Linked DNA regions of Homo sapiens: regions 1 and 3 are each linked to region 2. The links are contacts of gene promoters, found by promoter capture Hi-C in blood cells and fetal thymus (Javierre and others, 2016). All regions are on one chromosome and are shown on one strand. Each heading gives the region's core, a stretch centred on a gene start or on the middle of the fragment in contact. The rest is flanking DNA. Distances are from core to core; before and after follow the strand shown. Region 1 has its middle 4.5 kb from the start of ZNF683. Region 2 holds the start of SLC30A2 (solute carrier family 30 member 2). Region 3 overlaps DHDDS (dehydrodolichyl diphosphate synthase subunit).

Region 1 (4,324 bases), core at 481-2,980, 330 kb after region 2:
AGGCCTGAGCATAGGGGCTCAAAGGCCCCATTACAGAGTTTTTGAGAGTTTAAATACCTTCTGCTTGTGGTACGCCCTATGTAAATGAAGAGAATGAAGTAAAGTTACAATGTCATGTACTCAGGGAGAAGCTATTTCCTGTCAGAGCTGAAGTGTGAATTGGCCTTATGTTTCCTGCCTCCAGCCCCTATTTTCCTGCCTCATCTCCCCGCTAAGAGATGTGATTGTGGTCCCCGTAAATCTTCACGGGAGGCAGAGGGACCGATGGTCTTTTTCCTGGGACTGCTTCATGCTGGCATGGGGCGTAGTCCCTACTTATTGGGGATCATGGAACCCTCACCTTGTTCTGTCTAGTGGAGGCAGGGTAGCTTCTTGATGGCCAGGGGTGGTGTCTTCACCTGGACTGGCTGGAGCCTTTGTTGCATGATCATCTGAAGCTTGATGGCCTCCTTTTGCTGGTATGCCAGGTTTCTGGGCTCTCTTTCCCTGAGCGGCCCTTCCTCCGGGCTGGCTGGCCAAAATATGTCACTGGTGGGGGGTGTCCAGGTTCTTGGCATCTTGAACAAAGAATTGGACAAAAAGCAGAAACAAAGCAACGAAGAAATGAAGGGATTTATTGAAAATAAAGTACACTCCACAGTGTTGGAGTGGGCCTGAGCATAGGGGCTGAAAGGCTAAATTGTGTTTTATACAAACATGGGAATATATTGATGCACATTGCTCTTCCGGGTTTTCTTTTCTTTTCTTTTCTTTTTTTTTTTTTTTGAGACAGAATCTGACTCTGCCTCCCAGGTTGGAGTACAGTGGTGTGATCTTGGCTCACTAGCAACCTCTGCCTCCTGGGTTCAAGCAATTCTCCTGTTCAAGCTGGGACTACAGGCATGCGCCACCAAGCCCAGTTAATTTTTTTGTATTTTTAGTAGAGACGGGGTTTCACCACATTGGCCAGGCTGGTCTCAAACTCCTGACCTCAAGTGATCCACCCACCTTGGCCTCCCAAAGTGCTGGATTACACTTTGGGAGCCACCATGCCCAGTCTCTTCTGGGTTTTCTAATAATCCATTGTGGGCATCATTTCATGCCCTGAACATACCTATCTGCCTCCTGCTTTTTCCTGACTATATAATGTTCCATTGCAGGGTTGTGCTTAATATGTAGCCTTCCCCTGTTGGTGGACATACGGGTGGGATCCAATTTTCCCCTTTCTACACAAGGCTGGAAAAGACCTCCAGACAGAGTCAGTATGCGGAATGGTTAAGAATACGAGCTCTGCTGGATTTAATCCCAACTGGGTAAACTTATGGCAAATCACTTAACCTCTCTGTGCATCTTTCCTCATCTGTCAAATGGAGATAATAATAGCACTTGCCTCATAGAATTATTTCCAGGTTTCCTCAAGATAATCCATGTAAAGCCCTTAGGATGGTGCCTGGCCCAAAGCAAGCACTTGACCAATGTGGATGACTATATTGTACATTACCCTTTACCTAGTTAGGCAAGCATCTGCAAGTCAGCTTCTTAAAAGTGTTAAAATTTTGATGGTTATTCCTGACCCATTTTGGAAGATCGAAATTTGGGCAGCACAATTGGAGAGATTAACTACATTTAGTTTTCTTGCTTTATTTATTGACCCTTCCCTGGTTGGGGATCATTGCTCTCATTCAATGCAGTCTTCTCCTACCCCATCCACACACCACAATAATAATAGCTCTTGGCATGGGAGCCCTCATTATATGCCAGGAACCATGCAAAGCCATTCCACACGCTTTGTCTCACTGGATCAGCAGAGTGACTCTGGGAGATGAATGCCATTATTCCCATTTTAGAGGCAAGAAAACTGACACTCAGATAAGGAAAATGACTCACTTAAGATCAGATGACCTGGCTGGGCGTGGCTCATGCCTGTAATCCCAGCACTTTGGGAGGCCGAGGCGGGTGGATCACCTGAGGTCAGGAGTTCAAGACCAGCCTGGCCAACATGGTGAAACTTTGTCTCTACTAAAAATACGAAAATTAGCCGGGCATGGTGGTGGGTGCCTGTAATCCCAGCTACTTGAGAGGTTGAGGCAGGAGAATCGCTTGAACCTAGGAGGCGGAGGTTGCAGTGAGCTGAGATCGTGCCATTGCACTCCAGCCTGGGAGACAAGAGCAAAACTCAGTCTCAAAAAAAAAAAACCAAAAAACACCACATGACCCCAAAGTGGAAAGCATAGAAACAGAGAGTAGAAAGGTCTTTACCAGGGGCAGGGGCCTGGGGTGTAAGGGAAATGGGAGATGAAGGTCAAAGGGTACAAAGTTGCAGTTACTTAGAATGAATAAGTCTAGAGCTGTAACATACAGCATGAGGATTATAGTTAGTAATATTATATAGTAGACATTTGCTAAAAGTAATTTTAGGTACTTTTACCGCACACACACACAAAAGGTAACTGTGAGGTGATGGATGTGTTAAATTGCTTGACTGTAGTAATCACTTTACTGAGCATATGTGTATCAAAACATCATGTTGTAGATCTTAAATATATACAATTTTAAAAGAAACACATGACCCAAGTTGAGGTTGTAAGTCCCAGAGGTGAGGGAGAGCTTAGGGAAGACTTTCCAGGCATTTGAAGAAGTAAAAAGTGCCACAAATATGTTTGGTAGAAGGGGCTCCCAGAAAAATTAAGACAAACAGAGGCCATCTTGAAACGAGCTGCAGAATTAGCATCTGGTACCCTGCAAGAACGTCATTCATTCACATATTTATTTGCCTTTTCTTTCTTCCTTCCTTTCTTTCTTTCTTTCTTTCTTTCTTTCTTTCTTTCTTTCTTTCTTTCTTTCTTTCTTTCTTGTTGTATTTTGGTAGAGACAGGGTCTGGCTGTGCTGACCAGGCTAGTCTCAAACTCCTGCCCTCAAACAGCCTCCCAAAGTAATTCACATATTTATTAATTACCAGCTATGTGTCAGGCATTGGACTATTTTCTGGGAATACAGCCCATAGAAATATGACTCAGACCTTGGAATTACATTCCGGCTATCAAGAAGCTTGCTGGATGTTGTGAAATGGAAAGTAATGTACATCTGAGCTTATTATTAGGAGGGTAGGGGCTGGAGGAGCAAAGTAGAACTGGGGGTGGGGTTGGCTGACTCATGCACCAAGAAAGGGAGACAACGGAACCACAGCCAGAAGCCCCACTTCCTCCCTGAAAACCTTAAAAACTTCTTCAACCCATATCCATTGCCACCTCCAACCTTGAGGCCAGCCAGCTGACTTCCCAGTCAGCTCAGCACATGGGTCCAGGACCTCTGTCACATGGACACTTTTGAGAGGCACCAGGTAAGGACCCCAGGTCAGGAAGGGATCTGGGACGTCACTGGCTTAGAGGTTAAGCAGCTGTAGGGTGTGCCTCCACAGGCAGAGCTGAGGGTGGGGCTGACAGTGCTCTTGCCTGGCTCTGCTCTGTGGTTGACACCTCCCTCCCTCTGCCTGACACCCACATGCTTATCTCCCCAGACAGCCCAGCTGTCAGTCTGTCAGATGCATTTGAGTTGGCCCTTGGCTTCACACCCCAAGGTGGGGAAGAGATCTTGAGTTAAGGCGTGCCTGCTCTTACATTTGCAGAAGGGGCCTACAGACACTCTTGCGTCTTCCCCTGCACCCATCTGTGACCTTCCAATCCTTCTGTGGGTAAAATTGCAGATGCATCTTCAAATGATATCCAAGGTCATGCCACTTATCCTCAACCATTCCAAGAGAATAGGAGACAAGAGGTCACCTTGCTTGGATTCAAATCCAGCAGAGCTAATGTAATCTGAGCCACTGTGCAAAACTGCCCACCATGTACATGTATGTCCTTTCCAGCCTGGTGTGGAACGGGGCAAAATTAAAGTCCACCTATATGTCTACCATTAGAGGAAAGCTACATATTATGTACATCCATGCATCAGAATACTATGCAGCCAGGAAAAAGCAGGAGGTAAATTTACTCAATGCCTCCTACATGCCAAATCTCTTTATGATCATCTTATTTAATCGTCCTCAAAATTCTCCAAGTTGGCCAGGCATGGCGGCTCACACCTGTAGTCCAAACAATTTGAGAGGCCAAGGTGGGAGGATAGCTTGAGCCCAGGAGTTTGAGACCAGCCCGGGCAACATAGCAAGACCCCCTTCCCTACAAAAAATAACTAGGCATGATGGCATGGGCCTGTAGTTCCAGCTACCTGGGAGGCTGAGGCAGGAGAATTGCTTGAGCCCTGGAGGTCAAGGCTGTAGTGAGCCATGATTGTGCCTGCCACTGCACTCCAGCCTGGGCAACAGAGTGAAACTTTATCTCAAAAAAA
Region 2 (4,204 bases), core at 486-2,985:
AAAGTCAGTGAGCAGGTGTGCTGCGTCAGTCATGACAGCCAAGCTGTGTGCCAGGTACCCACCTGCAGGGTGGAGGGTCCTTATCAGCTCCCCCAGAGAGCTGGCTCCCAAGACTGTGTGTGCAGCAGGGAGACCACAGGCTCTGGAAGAGGACATTCTGGGCTCAAGATCTCTCTACCCATGAGCTGTACCACCGTGACAAGTGACCTACTCTCTCTGAGCCTCAACTTCCACTCTCTGTGAAATGGGCCACCAATATCTACTTAGAGGGTGAATGTGCACATCAAGTTCAAATAGGGACTGGAAAACATAGCAGATACTCAGTAAATGCTCTTCCCTTCTAGGAATTCAGGCCTTCCCTTAGCTACGAGTTGTGCGTGATCTTTGGCAAGTTACTTCACCTGAACATGCCTCAGTTTCATCATCTGTAAAGTAAGGAGAATAACGTCACCCATGTGAGAACACAGGTTGTTGTTAGACCTGCATCAGATAATGTGTATATAAAGGCTTACTGTAGTGTGTGTTCAGTAATTGGGGCTTTTAGTGTCAGTATTGCTGGGAACATCCAGTCTATCCATGCACCAACTTCATTTAATTAGCCCAAAAGTGCTTACCAACGACTTCTCCGATCATGAACAACAGGCAGATGGCAGAGGCTACATACAGCTGGCGCTGGGCCTTCCCCTTCTTGGGGTCACAGTGACTGTCAGGACCCTTCTGAGCATGGCAGTGATGGTTGCTCTGGGCAGCCAGCTCAATGGCCTGCAAGTCCAGGCCAGGTCGGGGCAGAGGAATCCAGCCAGCCCCTTCCTGCCACAGAGATCCCGTGTATGACCTGGCCAGAGGGGAAGAGAGGGAACGCTCAGCTCTGAGATGAGGTAAGGAGGGCCGACTCTAGTCCCATTTCTCTGTGAGGCCTTGTGTCCACTGGGAAAAATAGCTAAGGACGCTCCGAGCTCGACAAACCAGAGGTGAGAAGCCTGTATTCAGACGGGGATGATAGGGGAATGGGAGTCCTGGGGCCCGGGGCCCTTCAGAGGCCAGAGGAGGTGAAGACCCTGGGAACCGGCCAAGGGGCGTGCTGTCCAGTGGAGCGCGGGGAAGGAACAGAGCGCAGGCTCTGGGAGAACAGCAGGCCCCCTCCAGCGCACTTGGGACACAGGGCCTCCCCGGGGCGGGGCTGCCTGGGGCAAAGTGCTGGGCGGGGCGGGACTCCAGGCATGGGAACCGCCAATCCCCCGGCCCCAGGCCCCCCGCGGGCAGGGGTCAGAATCTGGGCTGCGCCCCAAGGGAGAGACGGTCCTTGGGCCACAGCCCATTATCTTCGTTCCCTCACCTCACCCCACCCCTCCTGCATGGTCCCAGCTCAAGCCGCAGCCAAAACCAACCACTGCTAGGATGGCAAATGCGGAGGTGCGTCGGCTGCCGCCAAAATTCCCGCCCGTCCCCAGGCTCTCGCCTTACCGGATTGCCGGCCTGGCGTCCAACAGATGCTGCTTCTCCTTGGCCTCCATGCAGTCCCGCGCCGAGTCCCGGCAGCCGCGCAGCCGCCCCGCCGAGTGCGCCCTGAAAGTTGCGCGCGGGACTCCGGGTGGCGCTCACCCACCTGCCCCGAGGGCCCCGCGAGGTGCGCTCACTCCGGCCCGGCTCCTGCGGCCCCTGAGCTCCCCCGGCTCCCGCTGCGGCTGCAGCTCCGGCTCTGGCTCCGCGTGCCAAGCGCTCCCGTGTCTCGGGTCAGCCGCTGCGCCCCGCGGCCGCCGGCTTTATCCGGCCCTCGCCAACCCGTGTGAAGCTGCCGTCGGCGCGTCGTGTGCAAAAGCCCGCGGGGAAGGGGGGGCGGTCGCCGGCTGCAAAAGGCCCGGCTGTGGCCCCGCACACCTGTGCCTGCGCCCATGGGGCCCGCGGAGCCCACCTGCCGGCCGCGAGAAGTTTGCCAGCCTTCGCCCGGCGCGGCGCCGGGTGTTGCTGAGTGAGGACGGGGTGACGCCTGCGCCCCCTCTCCCGCGCGGGGTGCGCCGCCTCGCCGCCGAAAAGTTCTCGACTTTAGTTTGTAGAAATCCGCTTTGGTGGTCCCGACGGCAGGAATGTGGCTCCTTGCCTCGGAAGAGGGTCTCCAGAGGCTACTGGGGCCGCGTCTGCCCCCTCCGACTGGCGGCTGCCCTGGGCTTGATCATGTTCCCCTCTCAGGCCGGAGACCCCCCGAGGTCGGCTTGCGTTCCTGTCCTCCTGCTAGGAGGGTCCTGGGGTGGGGTGGGCTGCGCCGCCCTCAGGCTGGGGCAGTGTCTCTCCCTAGGACCGGCTGGGACTGATCGACCCATCCTCGCCACTGAAGCAGCGCCAGCTCCTCCTCTCCTGCGCGCAGGAGAATCTGGAGTGGCCGGCTTTGTCTCCACCCGCACAGAGAACAGTGTCATCGGCAGTCACCATCGGAGCAGAGACGACCACTGCCACTGCTGCCACCCCTTCTCCCCTCCCCCGCAGCGGCTCCTGGGAGCCCCAGGAAGCCTGACAAGCAAGCCTGGGAGATGCAGGCCGGAGGTGCCACCGTGTTGGTACCGCTGGGAGAAGCCCTGTCCTTCCTGGCCAGCTTGGTGCCCCACCCACTTGAAGCAGCCTCCTTCCCTGGCGGTTCTTGGGGATTGGGGAGCCTGTGGCCCCCACGCTGGCCTCTGACAGGTGCCCTCTGTGTAGAAAGAAGCTGCTGGAGACCTCCCTGTCTGGTCAATTCGTCTCCCCAGCACCCTTTGTCGCTAGGACCATAGGCTTGGTGGGTATGGCCTTTCACAGAGCCAAGAGTCAGAGGTGCAGGCCTCTTGCCCACACCACTGGGGACAGGAAGGGGCTCTTTCAGTCTCTCATCTTGTAGGAGACGGGGTGCCAGGAGTGAGGATGTGAGGTGCACCCGCTCTGCTTGGGTCCTCACTGAGTGCCTCTCTGCTTCTCTGGACTCTGGTTTTCTTCTGGAAAACCTCAGACACCCTGGTTTTCTCCAGGTCTGTCTACTCTGAGCACCAGCAGGCTCAGCATTACCTGGAGAAGGTGTTACAACGCAGGTTACAGGTCCCTGCATCAGACCAACCGAACCAGAATCTCTGGGTGTGGAGCCTGAATATTTCCAGGATTCAGTAGGTCTGGGGCAGGGCCTGGGAATCTGTATTTATAAAATTCTCTGGTGCTATTGTGGCATCATTGTTCATTTTTATGTATAGTGGTTTTTTTGTTTGTTTGTTTTTGAGACAGAGTTTCATTTCTGTCTCTGTCGCCCAGGCTCGACTGCAATCTCAGCTCACTGCAATCTCTGCTTCCCGGATTCAAGTGATTCTCCTGCCTCAGCTTCCTGAGTAGCTGGGATTACAGGTGCCCACGACCATGCCAAGCTAATTTTTGTATTTTTAGTACAGACAGGGTTTCACCATGTTGGCCAGGCTGGTCCTGAGGTTATGATTTTTTTCAAAGAACACCTTTATCTAAAGTATTTAGGGATAAAATGTCATCTGGGTTTTGCCTTAAAATAATCCCAGTGGGGAGAGTACGGTACTGGTATAGAAGAAATAAATATGTCACCAGCTGTTGAAACTGAGTGATGGGTAAATGGGGTACACTATAACTATTCCCTCTACTTTTCAGTATTTAAAAAATGTTGGCTGGGTGCGGCGGCTCACGCCTATAATCCCAGCACTTTGGGAGGCTGAGGCAGGCGGATCACCTGAGGTCAAGAGTTCGAGACCAGCCTGGTCAACATGGCAAAACCTCGTCTCTACTAAAAATAAGAAAATTAGCCAGGCATGGTGGCAGGCGCCTGTAATCCCAGCTACTCAGAATTCTGAGGCAGGAGAATCACTTGAACCCGGGAGGTAGAGGTTGCAGTGAGCCGAGATCATGCCATTGCACTCCAGCGTGGGCAATCAAGAGTGAAACTCTGTCTAAAAAAAAAAAAAAAAAAAGTTTCAGAATTAAAGACTTGGGGAAAAATAAACCTTTCCTGGCAATTCTGATGTAGCAGCCCATGGAGCTGTATTCAAGATTCATTGAAAGAACCCCCTTGAAGCCAGCTGTCCTCTCTTGCAGCATGATTTTAAAGGAAGCATGTTGATCAAGAACCCTTCATACCATCTTAAGGGTTCTAGTTTGCAAGTACAGGAAGAGCCCTTCCTATGGCAAAGGAAAGATCCCCTTAGTTGCAATTAACAGGTATCTTCCTGGA
Region 3 (4,172 bases), core at 826-3,325, 400 kb after region 2:
GTGCCAGAGCTGGGACTCATATCTAAAGCTGTTTGATTTTAGGGTTCTTATCCTTTACCTCTATTATGTGGGATCTTGGGAAGCAGGAATTTTTCTGGTTCCCTTCCCGATTCGATTGACCTAGGAAACTAGATTAAAAATCAAAAAGTTACTTGGTGAGAATAGAATTAGATAAAAAGGAGAGGAGACAGTTTTTGAGGCTATTTTATGAATGCCTCTCCTTCCTAACAGCTGGGTGACATTTCTCTGTCACATAGTTCATTCATTCAACAAATATTTTATTTTTATTTATTTATTTTTATTTTTTATTTTATTTATTTTTTTGAGATGGAGTCTCGCTCTGTCTCCAGGCTGGAGTGCAATGGCGAGATCTTGGCTCACTGCAACCTCCGCTTCCCAGGTTCCAGCAATTCTTCCACCTCAGCTTCCCAAGTAGCTGGGATTACAGGCGCCCACCACCGTGCCCAGCTAATTTTTTGTATTTTTTAGTAGAGACGGGGTTTCACCATGTTGGCGAGGCTGGTCTTGAACTCCCAACCTCAAGTGATCTGTCTGCCTCAGCCTCCCAAAGTGCTGAGATTCCAGGCATGAGCCATCACTCCTGGCCCATTTTTATTTTTATTTTGAGACAGGGACTCACTCTATCGCCCAGGCTGGCGTGCAGTGGTGTGATCTCGGCCCACTGTAGTCTGTGCCTCCCGGGCCCAAGCAGTCCTCCCACTTCAGCCTTCCAAGTAGCTGGGACTACAGGTGTGTGCCACCATGCTCAGCTAATTCTTTTTTTGGAGACAGAGTCTCACTCTTGCCCAGGCTGGAATGCAATGGTACAATCTCGGCTCACTGCAACCTCCGCCTCCTGGGCTCAAGCGATTCTTCTGCCTCAGCCTCCTGAGTAGCTGGGATTACAGGGGCATGCCACCATGCCCAGCTAATTTTTGTATTTTTAGTAGAGACGGGGTTTCACTATGTTGGCCAGGCTGGTCTCAAACTCCCCACCTCAGGTAATCCGCCCACCTCGGCCTCCCAAAGTGCTGGGATTACAGGCGTGAGCCACCGCGCCCGGCGGTTTTAGACTTACGTTACAGTGGATAGTGGTGCCCTTCACCATGCTAGGTAACCCTGAGAGAAAATCCAGTTGAAAAGGGTCAGCAGTTTGGTTTTGGATATCCTGTACATGTTGAACAGAGATGTCAGGTCAACAGTTCAGCGAGGGATTGGTATAGTCAGGTCAACAGTCAGACAGAGATGTCAGGTCAACAGTTCAGACAGGGTTTATCTCTGTCGCCAGTATGGAAGCCATCTGTGTATAGGTTAACTTGAGCAAAGAGGGGATGAGAAAGCTAAGGAGAGTCTGTCTGTCTATCTGTGTATTTATCTATTTAGAGATGGTCTCACACTGTCTCCTGGGCTGGAGTGCAGTGGGGCAATCAAAGCTCACTGAAGCTTGGAACTCCTGGTCTCAAAGGAGCCTCTCAAGTACCCAGTACTACAGACGTGCACCACCTACCCAGCTAACTTTTTATATTTATTTTTTGTAAAAACAGGGTCTGACTTTGTTGCCCAGGATGGTCTTGAACTCCTGGCCTCAAGTGGTCTTCTTGCCCTGGCCTCCCAAAATGCTGAGATTACAGGTGTGAGCCACTCAGCCCTGCCTGTTAAGGAGTGTAGAGTGAGAAGAAGAAAGAGCCTAAGATGGCATTTTTGAGGAACTCTACCCTTTACTGGCTGGGTAGAGGAGAATAAGCTTTATAAGCAAAAACACAGAAAAGCAGGAAGAAAACCAGGGCAGCCAGCATTACATAAGCCAAGAAAAGAGGGAGTTTGTTGGTGCAAGTTGGGAAGGGGTAGGGCACCCATGGAAACAATGGTGTCAAATGCTGTAGAGAGGTCAATTAAGATGTAGAGTGAAAATCAGCTGTTGTTAAAACAATTAAGAGACTGGTGGAGTTAGCAGAGGTAGAGAGCAGGCAGGAAGATGAGACAGAAAAGGGGTATAGAAATAGAAGCATGTTTTCAATAAAATTCTTAGTTTGGAGGTACTTTCGTAGTTCATTATATTTTTGTGCTTTATAATGAATATGTTTCAAATATTCTTGTATGTATGAAATAAATATTAAGGCACAAGGGTTGACACTAGAATGAAAGAAAGCCATTTGACAAGCAGATCTAATATGCATTATGCCTAGGACTCTGATCTTGACTCCTAGTCCAGCATGCTTTACCCTCATACCACATTACAGTAACCACTACCTTATCTCCTGCTTCTTGTCCAGCAAGTTTTTCCATATCCTTCTCTGTCCTGCATGGTTTAGTAACTTGCCTCTGTGGGGTTAGTTATGCAGACAGGGTGTGGGTTGGGCAGTATCACCAGGGTCAGGAGGCCAATGTCTCAACCCACCAACTCCTGAAGCTTGGTGTGCTCAGACTGGGCTAATCAGGGCCTGAGGCGTTACACTTTATATTATTCGAATTTAGACAAACCTGCATTTATAACAAAGTCAGTGCGTTAATTACAATTAGGTCCTATGCTTCTAATAGCTGGAATTTTCCTGATTTCTCACTATCACCATCCAACTCCTCATTTTTCTTTCTTCCAGGGTATGTATGTAGATGTGTGTGTGTGTGTGTGTGTGTGTGTGTGTGTGTGTGTGTGTGTGTATTTTTGTTTTTTTGTTTTTCTGAGATGGAGTCTTGCTCTGTTGCCCAGGGTGAAGTGCAGTGGCACGCTCTCAACTCACTGCAACCTCCACCTTATAGGTTCAAGCAGTTTTCGTGCTTCAGCCTCCTGAGTAGCCAGGATTATAGGTGCACACCACCACACCCGGCTATTTTTTTTTCTTTTTTTTTTTTTTTGAGACAGAGTCTCGCTCTGTCGCCCAGGCTGGAGTGCAGTGGCACAATCTCAGCTCACTACAACCTCTGCCTCCCGGGTTCACGCCATTCTCCTGCCTCAGCCTCCTGAGTAACTGGGACTACAGGCGCCTGCCACCCCGCCTGGCTAATTTTTTTATATTTTTAGTAGAGACGGGTTTCACCATGTTAGCCAGGATGGTCTCGATCTCCTGACCTCGTGATCTGCCTGCCTCGGCCTCCCAAAGTGCTGGGATCACACCCGGCTATTTTTTGTATATTTAGTAGAGATGGGATTTCACCATGTTGACCAGGCTGATCTCGAACTCCTGACCTCAAGTGATCTGCCCACCTTGGCCTCCCAAAGTCCTGGGATTATAGGTGTGAGCCATAGCACCTGGCCTGTTTCGTTTTGTTTTTGAGACAGGGTTTCACTCTGTTGCTGAGGCTGAAGTGCAGTGGTATGAACATGGCTCACTGCAGCCTAGACCTCCTGGGCTCAAGAGATCCTTCCACCTCAGCTTCCTGAGTATCTGGGACCACAGATACTGCTACCACATCTGGCTAATTTTTTGACTTTGTAGAGACAGGGTCTTGCCATGTTGTCCAGGCTGGTCTCAAACTCCTGGGCTCAAGTGATCCTCCTGCCTTGGCCTCCCAAAGTGCTGGGATTACAGGTTTGAACCACGGCACCTGACCGAGGTATATATGTATTTTTTTAGCAGTTAAATTAATAGATTGTTTTGTGAGTCTGGAAATTATAGAAGAAGGAAGTAGATTGAGACCAAAGGATAGTTAATAAATTCTATTCCACCGTGTTACCTTGAACGGGCTACTTGATTCCCTGTAGGCCTCTGTCTTTCTTATAAAACAATAGTGTTAATAGTAATTGCTAACACTTACTGAGCATTTACTCTGTTCCAAGCATTAAGTATTCCACATACATTTATCCTTAGACCCTATAAGGTAGATACTGTTTTTATGCCCATTTTAAAGATGAGAATACTGAGACATGGAGAGGAAAAGTAACTTGTGCAAGTTCACATAGTTGGCAAACCTGGGGGCCAAGATTTCAACCTGGCTTCAGAGCCTGTGTTCTCATTCACTGTGGCATATTGACTTCCTCATAGCAAAGCTGAAATGAACAATAAGGCAGTAAAAAAGAAAAAAATTAGATGGACATGGTGACTTATGCCTGTAATCCCAGGACTTTGGGAGGCTGAGGCAGGAAAATCGCTTGAGCCCTGGAGTTTGAGACCAGCCCTGGCAACACGGCAAGACCCTGTCTCTACAAAAATAAAACAGTTAGCTGGGTGTGCTGG

The links. Contacts are between HindIII fragments. The CHiCAGO score rates a contact against its expected background, and 5 or more counts as called.
Region 1: a contact is called between a fragment that was not itself captured here and the fragment with the promoter of SLC30A2 in region 2, in 1 of 17 cell types (M0 macrophages). The highest score is 5.2, in M0 macrophages.
Region 3: a fragment that was not itself captured here is called in contact with the fragment with the promoter of SLC30A2 in region 2 in 1 of 17 cell types (M2 macrophages); the score reaches 5.8 in M2 macrophages.

What each region holds. Positions count from the first base shown.
Region 1 is chr1:26,375,131-26,379,454 of GRCh38, forward strand. No RefSeq gene overlaps it. Among named protein-coding and RNA genes, the nearest start is that of ZNF683, 4.5 kb to the left of the region's middle. RefSeq lists a cis regulatory region at 2,908-3,801 and an enhancer at 3,124-3,333. The HindIII fragment of the contact is 2,591 bases long and covers 436-3,026 here.
Region 2 is chr1:26,044,383-26,048,586 of GRCh38, forward strand. SLC30A2 (solute carrier family 30 member 2) reads right to left here and starts at 1,736. Exons shown (of 8, transcript NM_001004434.3): 1 at 1,465-1,736; 2 at 615-835; 3 at 1-62. The coding sequence starts at 1,514. LOC105376910 (a long non-coding RNA gene) reads left to right here and starts at 3,876. Exons shown (of 2, transcript XR_001737948.2): 1 at 3,876-4,204. RefSeq lists an enhancer at 767-1,335. The HindIII fragment of the contact is 10,541 bases long and covers 1-4,204 here.
Region 3 is chr1:26,448,794-26,452,965 of GRCh38, forward strand. The region is part of intron 6 of DHDDS (dehydrodolichyl diphosphate synthase subunit); the gene reads left to right. Among named protein-coding and RNA genes, the nearest start is that of DHDDS-AS1, 17 kb to the right of the region's middle. The HindIII fragment of the contact is 666 bases long and covers 1,743-2,408 here.